3 separate regions of the Homo sapiens genome follow, and regions 2 and 3 are each linked to region 1. The links are contacts of gene promoters, found by promoter capture Hi-C in blood cells and fetal thymus (Javierre and others, 2016). All regions are on one chromosome and are shown on one strand. The core of a region is centred on a gene start or on the middle of the fragment in contact, and the rest is flanking DNA. Distances in the headings are between cores, read along the strand shown. Region 1 holds the start of TOP2A (DNA topoisomerase II alpha). Region 2 overlaps THRA (thyroid hormone receptor alpha). Region 3 overlaps THRA (thyroid hormone receptor alpha).

Region 1 (4,216 bases), core at 696-3,195:
ATGCAGCTAACAATAGCAACGAGCTACATAACAAAAACTAAGCAAAAGACGTACGGATCAATTGTGACTCTAATACAAGACATTTTTGGGTCCCTTTGTTTGTTGTCCGCAGCATTAACTGAAAGAAAATAAAATATACATTTGTAAGAAATTAGTGTTTTAAGAAACATTCTGTAACTCTAAGTAAGATATAGAAAAAAAAGTTCCCAAACAGCACAGGAGTGGCATTAACAAGGTGTTAATTTAGCAATTTTTGTCCATAGTACTGTTTCTACGAGAAGCTCAACCTCCTGGGCTCCAGGAAACCAGCTCACCTTTATCAACTGATTGAAATGACAGGAGCCCTGGCTACAGCAGGTTTGGTAGAAATGATACTTTTTGTTTTTACTTTTATCTTTTTTAAATTTTTATTTGGAATGATACTTCTTATGAAAGATTTGACCAGATCTTTATATTAAAGGATTTACTCACCTAGAATCTCATCAAAGATTTTGTACAAACCAGGAACAAAAGTGACTTCCCTATAGTTAATGCCAACATCTTCATCGTAAACCCACATTTGCTAGAAATAAGGCAAAGAAATACTGTTATTTTTATTCTATATTCATTGTTCTGTTATCATGATTACCATAAAGTGTTCATATTAAGTATTACCATATTTAGGCCAGTTCCAGTGACACTCAGTACATGAGAGATACAGAAAGGTCACACTCAGTACATGAAAGGTACAGAAAGAAGAGTATCCATTTCAACTACTAGGTTAACTGCCTTTGATGAGCTTGATTTTACCTGGGTCACTAATTCCACAGAACCAATGTAGGTGTCTGGGCGGAGCAAAATATGTTCCAATTGTGTTTTCTTTTGATAGATTCTTTCAACAGACAGTCTTTTCTTAGCATCTTCATTTTTCTTTATTTTGTTGACTTGCATATTTTCATTTACAGGCTAGCAATTAAAAAAAAAGAGAGAAAGAAGGGAATTTTTAATCATAAGTTTACCCTAAACTAGGAACAAAATGCCTACCATAGTGAGATGTCAACATGCATTGCAATCTGTTAGTAGGCAGTGGTGGAGTTGCCAGTTTTGTACAAATAGGACAATTTAAATTCGCTGCGGCCAGGTCCCCAGGTGTCAGGTTAAACAGACACATATTATCTCACCAAGTGGGTCTGTCTGGAAACCTCTTTTCTTGAGCAACATGGTAGATGTCATCAATAAAATACACCCACTTCTTTCAGTTCCTGCATACATTATTTACCGAGTGCCTATTATTATAAATTATTTACGGTGTCCCGAGCACACGACACCGTAAATAATTCTAGTTCGGCAGCAGCAGTTTGGGCGGCTATCCGTTCAATCCCTTGGCCACCTGAGCGTTGTGAACTCAGGAAGGGGGCGCTTTTGTAAGCTGGCCAGCTGCTCCAGAGAAACACTGTGCTAGGCTCTGCCCTTTCCAAGATCGGGGACATTCAAGACCGTTTTCAAGCAGCGGGCAGGAGGGGAAAGCATCTGTACGCGCGACTCAATAACGTCGCACCCGGGCCGCTGTAACATGGATCCACTACGGGACCAACGGACTCCTGCCCCTAGAAACAGGGCAACAACGCACGACACCCTGGAAGCCGGGTCATACTTCACTACTAGCACCAGAAGGGGCTTCCGCCTCTCCACGATCACCCCGGAACCGGGAATGGAGAATATGGGCTCCCAAGCCGGTCGCCGGCCTGACCGCAGCCCCAGAGCTTCACCCGTCACGGGCGGCCAGAGAGATGCCCGGGCCGCGCGGAGGCTCCACCGCCAGTCCCCCCCGCGAGCCGTACCTGCAATGGTGACACTTCCATGGTGACGGTCGTGAAGGGGCTCAAGAACCCTGAAAGCGACTAAACAGGCAGGACCCCACGAGACCACCCCCGACCAAGCCGCTTCTCCACAGACGCGCGTCGGTTAGGAGAGCTCCACTTGAACCTTCCTTTAGCCCGCCCGAAGCAGACCAGCCAATCCCTGACTCGCTCTCACCGTCTCCGTCCAGAAGAACCAATCGTAGCTTGCCTTTTATATCCACCTATGAACGGCTGAGTTGGCCGGGGTTTGTTTGAATAAACCAATCAGGTTAGGGAGGCGGGACTAGAGAGGCTTCAAAAGGCACCACTCGGCGTCATAGCGGAGAGATTGACAGGGAATCTGGCCAATGAGAAGGGCTCACTTGTTTTCTCGTGCGGAAAGCTTGGAAGAGATGGGCTTTGGAAGCGGGAAGGGGTGGCCTGAGGCAAAAGTGTGCAGGAGAAAAGCAAAGGATGTTTATTCTCCAGGAACTGCCAATCTATTTAAGATCCCTGAAATCTAAAAACTGTCCTCTGTTCTGACGTTGTTAGCGAGGGGAATGGGAGCCTTAGCTTCGTTTTCCTGAGGAAACTGAGTGCCGGCTTTCTGGACAGGCAGCCTGGCTGCTTGGTTGAAGCGAACAGATTCTGGCATCTGCCTCAACCCCGCCCCCTTTACCCTCGAATTCATTTTTCAAAGAAATAAAAGTAGGCTGTGTGCGGTGGCTGGAGTCTGTATTCGCAGCACATTGGGAGGCCGAGGCGGGAGGATCGCTGGAGCCTAGGAGTTGGAGACCAGCCTGGGCAACATAGCGAGACCCCGTCTCTACCCAAAAAGGAAAAAAAATAGCCAGGCGAGGCATCGCACACCTGTAACTCCAGCTCCGGAGGCTGAGGAGGGAGGATCGCTTGAGCCCCGGGGATCGGAGATCGAGGCGCCTTGAACCGTGATTGCTCCACTGCACTCCAGCCTGAGTGACAGAGCGAGGCCACCTCAAGAGATAAATACATAAATAAATAAATAATAAAAATAATTAAAATAAAAGTGCCACAGTTGTGGTTTGGGGGTTCCATATAGTGGAAGGATGTAGAAAGGCTTTGCAAAATGGAGGGCAGCATTCAGGTCCCCAGTAGAGCAGCGCTGGACTGCAACTGGTAAATCGAAAGGGATAACTTGTGGTGGTAGCCTCTTGAGCTGAGGGTGGGCTCAGCCGTCCGGGGCTGAAACCTTTTCCGCAGCCAGCTGGCCAGATACCCTCCGACTGGCTACTTTTGCTCACCTCCGTGAACCCTGCAGTCCAGAACAGCTGTTCCAATTTGACAAGGAAATGCCAAGACTGAAGCTTTTTTGTTTGCTTGTTTTTTTGTTGCTTTTTTTTTTTTTGAGATGGAATCTCACTCTGTCGCCCAGGCTGGAGTGCAATGGCGCGATCTAGGCTCACTGCAACCTTCACCTCGCGGGTTCAAGCGATTCTCCTGCCTCAGCCTCCCGTGTAGCTAGAATTACAGGCGCCTGCCACCACGCCTGGCTAATTTTTGTATTTTTTTAGTAGAGACAGGGTTTTGCCATGTTGACCAGGTTGGTTTCAAACTTCTGACCTCAAGTGATCTGCCCGCCTCAGCCTCTCAAAGTGCTGGGATTACAGGTGTGAGTCACTGTGCCCGGCGAAGACTGAAGTTTTAAAATTACTCTTACATATAAATGTTTGAGTGGATTAAACAAAGTTATTACCCTTACAAGAAGCCAGAAAAAAAAAAACTGCACAATTTGAGTGCCTACTAATTCCAGCTGAGCCACCTCTTTCCATTCATTGCTTCCTTCCTCTACCTGGGTTTCAGTCCCAACTCAGCAATTTGCCATTCGTGTCATTTCGATGGAGGAAGCCTCTCGGTGCTTCCGTTTCCTCTCCTAAAAAGAATAATTAACTATGATCTCAGAGTAGTGTGAGGGTTACATGAGAGAAGTGTAAGGTAAACAGTGGGCTGACAGTATTAGGTAGCAGGAATTTTCCTTAGGCTGGTGTGACAATTGTGGATGTAATTTTTTTTTTCTTCTTCTAAAAGAAACCAGAGGTCAACCATTGTTACATAACCACAGTGTGTCAAGGGAGGGCCAATGGGGAGCCGTATGATGTGGCAGGAAGCCAAGGATGGAAGTTGCCCATGGGCTAGGGGCACTCGGAAACCATAGGCATGGTGCTTCGGCATTGTTCTGCTCTCTTGACCTTTGGCTCCCTGGCCTCCAGCAGTCTCTGCGTGTTCCCAGCTCTGCTCTGCTCACCACATGTGTTAGAGAGCACAGGACCACCAGGGGCTCAGAGCAGTGGTAGGGAAGCTTGGCCAGTAGCCTCTGCTCAGCCAGAAGACTGACCAGGCCCTGGGATCCAGGGCCTGCA
Region 2 (4,216 bases), core at 1,053-3,552, 350 kb before region 1:
TTGAAAGAACCACCGTTCCAGGGGTGGGGGTGGGGGACACAGAAGGAAAGCCAGTGAGGTGGGAGCCTGCCCCTCAGTGCTGGCTTTGGCTCCAGGAGGGGGAGGGGATGAAGGGGGCTGTTGTCCAAAATGAGGGGGGAAGCAAAAGTGACACGCAGACACAGAGATATGTCCACACAGACAGCCACATGCACATCCAGGGACACCCAGGCAGACTCAAGGACAGGAGCTACTGGACACACCCACATGGGGACAAGGGAAGAGACAGGCTGCTGCTGCACCGTGGAGCTCTGAGGGGTGGGATATACCCATGGGAGACCAAGAGCATGGGGACCGATCCATGCACATACCCACGCACAGGGTCACACGTAGATGCTGTCACACACTGGGGCAAGGAGGAGTTGCTGTCACCCACACATAAAAAGTCACTGTCACATGCATGCATGCACACAGAGCAATTGCACACAGCAGCACAATTACAAAAGACCCTGTCACTCACAGGCACACACGTGCTCGCATGAGCCCAGTCACACAGACATCATTGCTTGCCGTGACAGTCGCTGTCACTCAGTCAGATGCAAACACAGTTACACACCAACACATGTATACACAACTTAGCAACAAGTATTTTCCTGGACTCTTTACTGTGGAGCTCTGAGGTTCTGTAGGCAACAAAACCCTTGCTCCCAAGAATATTAAATTTGGCTGTATGAAAAAGTGTTCCTGCGTAATGGTGTAAAGCATGCATTCCCAATGACATGTTCTTGGTCTCTATCGCTTGAGATACCACCCTACTAGACAGTGAGCTCTTGGAGACCTGGGAGAATCACTTAAAGAGCTCTGGATCCCACGCAGAGCCTAGCACAAGGGCTGCTCTGTAAATACTTGTTAGTTGATTGACTGTGGAACCTGCAGACACAGGTGCACTCATTTGCACATGGTCCCCTGAACTCAGGTGCAGAATGAGTTCACAAGGCCCAGGTCCCCACAGTTGCAGGTCCACACCAACAGTCGTGTCCACACAACCCCAGATACACACAACTGCAGCCTGTGCAGCCGAGCACACACTTAGATGCACACAATCACAAATTTTTCCCCTTCAGCTTCCTCCTCCCCTTTTTCCTCTAGGCTCAGCCACTGTGCGGGAATGGGCTGTTTTTTTTTTCTTTCTTTCTTTTAGAGGGACAGAGAAACAAGAGCAAAGACAGTGGGTTCAGGGGGGTTCCAGAGGGCCGAGTCATGGGCTCAAAGCAGTGTCCAGTGACTTCTAGAAGCTAGGATTCTCTTGACTGTTGGGGAAGGGGAGAGCTGCTCTCCTCCCTACCCTAAAAGCTCAGGGGTGTCTAACTGCCCCTGCTCTGAGTCATTTGCCTGGGTCTTTCCTGGGAACAGTCAGTCACTTCCAGCTGAGTTCCTGCGCCCCACCTTGAGTCTGGCCCTTTTTCCCACCTGTACCCTCCTGTCCAAACTTGGAAGCTTTCCTTAAGAGGCCATCGGCTGGCGAGTGTCTGTGTGAGTGATATGTACTTTTGACTTGGAATTTCTCTCTAACTCTGTCTCTCTGTTGCTCTGTCTTGCAGTGTCTGATTCTCCCTCTCTCTCTCCTTGTTTCTCTGCCAGTCTGTAACTCTCTCTCACCCTGTTGCTACCCCCGATCTACCCCTGTCCTTGTCTCAGAGCTGGGGACTGGCAGCAATGTTCTTCATACTTTTCCAGTTGTTAATACCCAAGCTCCGCCCCTCTGCCCCCCCTGCGCAGCCTCTGGGGTCAGCTTGAGGTTGGGGTGGGGGGCGGGGGGCTCAGCTGGCTGCTCAGGACTTCCTGCACTTCCTTAGTGCCGCAGCTGTGGCCAGCAAGTTTTAGGGGCTGGGAATGGGGGAAGGGGGGGGGGGTCAGCCACTGCCCATGCTGACCCCTCGGGCCTGCATGTCTGGAGACACCAGTTCTGTGGGCACCCTCAGGGTGCAGGCTGCAGCCAGCTAGCAGCTCTTAAACAAGCCATGAAGAGGCTCCCCCCACACTGGCCCAAGCTGGAAAAGAACCGCCCCCATGGGCAGTGGCGGGAGCTGGCAGGACCCTGCTGAGTTGGGTCCACTGCAGGGCTCACAATGGCCTTTCTCCACACCCCTGGCAGCTGAGGCCCACCTCAGAGATGCCCAACAGCTGTGTCCTTTTTGCCCAGCCTCAGGGCCTGGTTCTGAGGGCACAGCTGCCTAGACTAAGTATGTACTAAGCGAGGCCCTCCCACCCGTGAGTGCAGGTTCCAGCCTAGAAGGGGTACCTCTTCTGGAGAGGGAATTTGAGGAGGGGGAACTCAGGCAGGAGACATCGAGCCCGGGGGCACCAAGCACTTCTCGCTATGCTCCCCTCTAGCCTTGGACTATTTGGAGGTGGAGGCACTTGGCAGAGAACCCACAGGGCAGCTACAGAGGGGAAAGACTGAGGCTTGGTCTCAGGGAACACATAGCTGGATGAAAGAACAAGGCATTGGGCCGGGCACAGTGGCTCACACCCGTAATCCTAGCACACTGGGAGGCGGAGGCAGGCAGATCACCTGAGGTCAGGAGTTCAAGACCAGTCTGACCAAGATGGTGAAACCCCATCTCTACTAAAAATACAAAACTTAGCTGGGTGTGGTGGCGGGGTCCTGTAATCCCAGCTACTCAGGAGGCTGAGGCAGGAGAATCGCTTGAACCCAGGAGGTGGAGGTTGCAGTGAGCTGAGATTGTACCACTGCACTACAGACTGGGTGACAGAGCGAGACTCCGTCTCAAAAAAAAAAAAAAAAAAAAAGAAAAACAAAAAAGAACAAGGCATTATCTATCAAGCAGGTGATATACCATCACAGCTAAGAACAGAGATGATGGTGATGATCATGACGGCCATGATTGACCTGGACTGCCTAGGTCTGAATCCCAGCTCTGTCACTTGCTGGATGTGTGACTTTGAGCAAGCGATTTAACTTCCCCGTTGCCTCATCTGTAAATTGGGGATGATCATATCTACCTCATTTAGCTTTTTTGAGGAAAAATGTTTTTAAAAGTGCCTAGTTCATAACAAACTGTATATGTGAGCGGTTGTGATGGGTGAAGGAAGCTGTGGGCCTGGGGTCTCCCAGATTTCTTAGAGAAGCTTCGTGGAGAATTGGGTCTCCTAGACATCAGTGAGACTGGGGCCTGGGGCAGTGGGTCTCCAATTTCCAGCCTTCTCACCGTCATGTAATCTTTTCCTCCCAGACAAATTTTTGCAGCCTGGAATGAGTGTATGGGAAAGAGCCCAAGGCAGGCCCCTCTGCCCCACCCTCCTTTGACCCTCGCCCTTCAGCTTACAAGGAGCCCTTGGCCCCTCAGCCTGGGACACACCCCACCAGCTAGGGGCACCTGCATAAATCTTTGGGCATCACTGCATCTCTGTTCAGGGTCTGAGCTCTGGGGGTGGGAGAGAGAGAACAAGGAAAGCCGTCCCCTCTCTTATGTGTGGGCTCAAAGAGGAGGCAGTGCCCTTCCTCCCTCCTGGGAGCCCAGCATTGGTCAACCAGGACCCAGCTCTGGCTGATAGGCACCAGATTCCCCTGCCCTCCATGGAGTGGTACTTAGTGTGAAAGGTGGTGGCAGAGAGAAACTGAAGCACTGAGTAATGACCAGTGTGGTGGGCACAGCACTTTGAGATCCAGCATCTGTCCTGGGTTGCCTCTTTGCCTTTGTGAGTCTGGTGATCAGGATCCCCTCTCCAAACCCCTTTTATTTAGCCCTGCCCCTCAAGGTGAAGGAAGGACAATGGGAGGATACCCTGTAGGGGTGACGGGAAGCCTTTGGAGTGGGAACCAATCTCAACTCTAGTTCTCGGCTGGGCACAGTGGCTCATGCCTGTAATCTCAATATTTTGGGAGGCCAAGGCGGGAGGATCACTTGAGGCCAGTAGTTCATGATCAGCCTGGTCAACATAGTGAGACCCCATCTCTAAAAACAACTTTAAAAAGTTAGCCAGGTGTGGTGGCGCATGCCTGTGTTACCAGCTACTTGGGAGGCTGAGGCCGGAGGATCGCTTAAGCCTGGAAGGTCGAGGCTGCGGTGAGCTGTGATTGTGCCACTGCACTCTAGCCTGAACAACAGAGTGAGACCCCCCACACACACATCCTCTCAAAACAGACAGAAAACAAAACAAAAAACCCAACTCTAGTTCTCATGGCTGCAAAGGTGTCTAGGGGACTTTGGAG
Region 3 (4,216 bases), core at 1,132-3,631, 330 kb before region 1:
CTTGATCTTGAACTCCTGGCCTCAAGTGATCTGCCTGCCTCAGCCTCCCAGAGTGCTGGGATTACAGGTGTGAGTCATTGCACCTGGCCAGCAAGGCTTATGTTTACTAAGTGACTGACACATTGTAAACATGAAAAAATACTAATTCTTCATATTATTGCAATCATCTTGAGTTTTGAGGTGTTTCCTTTAAAATAAAGGCGAGGCTGGGTGCGGTGGCTCACGCCTGTAATCCCAGCACTTTGGGAGGCCGAGGTGGGCAGATCACCTGAGGTCAGGAGTTCGAGACCAGCCTGGCCAACATGGTGAAACCCCATCTCTATAAAAATACAAAAATTAGCCGGGCGTAATGGTGGGCACCTGTAGTCCCAGCTACTCGGGAGGCTGAGGCAGGAGAATTGCTTGTACCTGGGAGGTGGAGGTTGCAGTAAGCTGAGATCACACCACTGCACTCCAGCCTGGGTGACAGAGTGAAACTTCATCTCAAAAAGAAAAAAAAAATTAAATTAAAAAAATAAAATAAAGGTGAATCCCAATGTAGAGAATTGAAATTTTTCTCTTCCCCTACTAGAGTTCATACTCAGTCCCTTTCCTTGACTTTTTTGGTTCCCCTGTTTTATGAATTCCACCTGCATGGACAACAGGCAACATATATGAGAATGGTTTTTGGGTCAGTGTTGTTTTTAAAGTCATTTAGCAAAATGGAAAATGAGGTTTTACTTGGATTTCCTTTTTTTTTTTTTTTTTTTTTTTTGAGACAGAGTTTTGCTCTTGTTGCCCAGACTAGAGTGCAATGGCACAATCTTGGCTCACCGCAACCTCTGCTTCCTGGGTTCAAGCAATTCTTCTGCCTCAGCCTCCCAAGTAGCTGGGATTACAGGCATGTGCCACCATTCCCGGCTAATTTTTTCTTTTTTTTTTCTTTTTTGAGATGAAGTCTCACTCTTGTCACCCAGGCTGGAGTGCAATGCGAGCTCCACCTCCTGGGTTCAAGCGATTCTCCTGCCTCAGCCTCCCGAGTAGCTGGGATTACAGGGGCAGGCCCAGCTAATTTTTATATTTTTAGTAGAGATGGGGTTTCACCATGTTGGCCAGGCTGGTCTTGAACTCCTGACTTCAGGCAGTCTGCCCGCCTGGGCCTCCCAAAGTGCTGGGATTACAGGCATGAGCCACCGCGCCCGGCCAAGGGGTGGACCCCGCCGTGGTTCCACCGCGGCTCAAACCTAGGACCTTCTGCATGTAAAGCAGATGTGATAACTGCTACACTATAGAATCGCATGCTTTTTTTTTTTTTTTTTTTTTTTTTTGAGATGGAGTCTCATTCTGTCACCCAGGCTGGAATGCAGTGGCGCGATCTTGGCTCACTGCAACCTCTGTGTCCTGGGTTCAAGCAATTCTCTGCCTCAGCCTCCTGAGTAGCTGGGATTACAGGCGCCCACCACCACGCCCGGGTAATTTTTTTTTTTTTTATACGGAGTCTTGCTCTGTCACCCAGCCTGGAGTGCAGTGGCGCGATCTTGGCTCGTGGCAAGCTCCACCTCCTGGGTTCACGCCATTCTCCTGCCTCAGCCTCCCGAGTAGCTGGGACTACAGCGCCCACCACCATGCCCGGCTATTTTTTTTGTATTTTTAGTAGAGACAGGGTTTCACCGTGTTAGCCAGGATGGTCTCGATCTCCTGACCTTGTGATCCGCCTGCCTCAGCCTCCCAAAGTGCTGGGATTACAGGCATAAGCCACCGCGCCCGGCCTACGCCCAATTTTTATACTTTTAGTAGAGACAGGGTTTCACCATGTTGGCCAGGGTGATCTTGAACTCCTGACCTCATGATTCATCCGCCTTGGCCTCCCAAAGTTCTGGGATTATAGGCATGAGCCACTGCACCCAACCTCATGCCCGGCTAATTTTCTATTTTTAGTAGAGACAGGGTTTCTTCATGTTGGTCAGGCTGGTCTCGAACTCCCGACCTCAGTTGATCTGCCCACCTCGGCCTCCCAAAGTGTTGGGATTACATGCGTGCGCCACCGCGCCCGGCGACTTGGATTTCCAAAGCTGCTATTCCTTAAGGCCTCACATTATCCCAGGTTCAAAGCTGCCTGCTCTAGACATCATTCCTGCCTCTGCCACAAACACTACCCAGACACCCCCAACCCCTCAGCAGCCTGGGGGCTGAGGGCATATATTTCTCAGGTCCTTGAGCCTAGTAATCTTGGGCTCATGGTGTCAGGAGGATGCCAGGTCCCCTCACTGATCTTGCCTTCCTTGCTCTCCACCCCTGACCCCTAGTAAACTGCATGGTTGGTTCAGGAAGGGGAAGCCATGTCATGATCACAGCCTGCTCCATCTCCCCCACCCCAGGGCTTCTTTCGCCGCACAATCCAGAAGAACCTCCATCCCACCTATTCCTGCAAATATGACAGCTGCTGTGTCATTGACAAGATCACCCGCAATCAGTGCCAGCTGTGCCGCTTCAAGAAGTGCATCGCCGTGGGCATGGCCATGGACTGTAAGGGGCCCAGGTGGAGGGAATAGAGCCAGGTGGCCTGGGGTGGGGATGAGTTCTGGGAGGGCAGCTTCCTTCCAGGGTACCCTCAGAGCCCACAGGGCAGAGTGGCAATCCAGTCTAGGTCAGAATGTTCAGTGTCTTGGTCCTTGCTGTCCTCCTTCCTGCGCAAAAGGAAACAGGATCCCTGTGTGGGCCCCAATGCCTACCTGCCTTACAACACTCGAGGGCCTTAGAGAGGGAGTCGTTTGGTAGAAAGAGCTCCTGGGCACCCACTCTAGCACACTGTTCTTGACTCCCAGCGAAGGCACCCCACTTCTAGATGAGACAGGGCATCTTCCATTGGCTGGGGATTGGGTGGCAGGATATTCGAGTAACCACCGTCACCATAATCCGTTAGACCAGAACATGATATTCATCTGGATCAGCCCAAACTGTTGTTGACATGGTCCCGGGGATTAATCATGATCCGGGTTGTGCTGCCCAACTGCTAGGTGATTTGGGAAGTCATTTAGCCTCCATGGCCCTCGGTTTCTCCAACCTGTACTCTAGGAAGAGTAGTTTCCGGGAGCATTATGGAAAGGGGATGGAGGGTGCCATGCGTTAGACCTTGTGCCTCTCTGTTCACAGTGGTTCTAGATGACTCGAAGCGGGTGGCCAAGCGTAAGCTGATTGAGCAGAACCGGGAGCGGCGGCGGAAGGAGGAGATGATCCGATCACTGCAGCAGCGACCAGAGCCCACTCCTGAAGAGTGGGATCTGATCCACATTGCCACAGAGGCCCATCGCAGCACCAATGCCCAGGGCAGCCATTGGAAACAGAGGCGGAAATTCCTGGTAAGGAGAAAGGGGGCATGGGGAGAGCAGTAGCCAGGTGGCAGGGAGAAGAGAGTGAGCTCGGAGTCTTGCCTCCTCCAGGAAGTCTTCTTAGTGTAATCCAACCCAAAATACATACTCTTCACACTTTTGCTGTCCAGATTTTATACACTTGTGTTTGTGTCCTTGCTGTCTGGACTGTCTACTCCATCCAACTGGGAGCTCAATGAGGACAGGGCCTTGCCTTCCTCATCGAATTTCCAGGGAGCGGGAGCGACCTTTCTTCTTTTTCCTGCCCTTAGTGACTGGGAGGAGAGGGTAAGGATACAGTTATGTCACAGTATTTTTGAGCACCTGCTGGGTGCCAGGCATTATGTTAGGCCCTGGTCAAGCTAGTTGCTAAGTAAATGATGAGTTTGGGACCAGGTGCAGTGGCTCATGCCTGTAATCCCAGCAATTTGTGAGACCAAGGTGGGAGGATCGCTTGAGCCCAGGAGTTTGAGACCAGTCTGGGTAACATACAGAGATCCCACCTCTATGAATAATTTTTTTTTTTTTTGATACGGAGTCTCACTCTCACCCAGGCTAGAGTGCAGTGGCACGATCTCGGCTCACCGCAACCTCCGCCTCCTGGGTTCAAGCGATTCTCCCGCCTCCGTCTCCCGAGTAGTTGGGATTACAGGCACTGGCCACCATGCCTGGCTAATTTTTGTGTTTTTAGTAGAGACAGGGTTTCACCATGTTGACCAGGCTGGTCTCGAACTCCTGACCTCAAGTGATCCACCCGCCTCGGCCTCCCAAAGTGCTGTGATTACAAGATGTGAGCCACCATGCCCACCCTCTATGAATAATTTTTTTTTTTTTTTGAGTTGGAGTTTCGCTCTTGTTGTCCAGGCTGG

Evidence for each region. Contacts are between HindIII fragments. The CHiCAGO score rates a contact against its expected background, and 5 or more counts as called.
Region 2: a fragment that was not itself captured here is called in contact with the fragment with the promoter of TOP2A in region 1 in 1 of 17 cell types (neutrophils); the score reaches 5.3 in neutrophils.
Region 3: a contact is called between a fragment that was not itself captured here and the fragment with the promoter of TOP2A in region 1, in 1 of 17 cell types (neutrophils). The highest score is 5.4, in neutrophils.

Annotation. Positions count from the first base shown.
Region 1 is chr17:40,415,951-40,420,166 of GRCh38, forward strand. TOP2A (DNA topoisomerase II alpha) reads right to left here and starts at 1,946. Exons shown (of 35, transcript NM_001067.4): 1 at 1,821-1,946; 2 at 790-945; 3 at 472-562; 4 at 55-118. The coding sequence starts at 1,841. RefSeq lists enhancers at 1,605-2,130, 1,852-1,941, 3,610-4,152. The HindIII fragment of the contact is 7,280 bases long and covers 1-2,221 here.
Region 2 is chr17:40,063,892-40,068,107 of GRCh38, forward strand. The region is part of intron 1 of THRA (thyroid hormone receptor alpha); the gene reads left to right. Among named protein-coding and RNA genes, the nearest start is that of THRA, 3.0 kb to the left of the region's middle. The HindIII fragment of the contact is 1,656 bases long and covers 1,475-3,130 here.
Region 3 is chr17:40,081,478-40,085,693 of GRCh38, forward strand. It overlaps THRA (thyroid hormone receptor alpha), which reads left to right. Exons shown (of 9, transcript NM_199334.5): 5 at 2,358-2,505; 6 at 3,133-3,338. Among named protein-coding and RNA genes, the nearest start is that of NR1D1, 17 kb to the right of the region's middle. The HindIII fragment of the contact is 5,422 bases long and covers 1-4,216 here.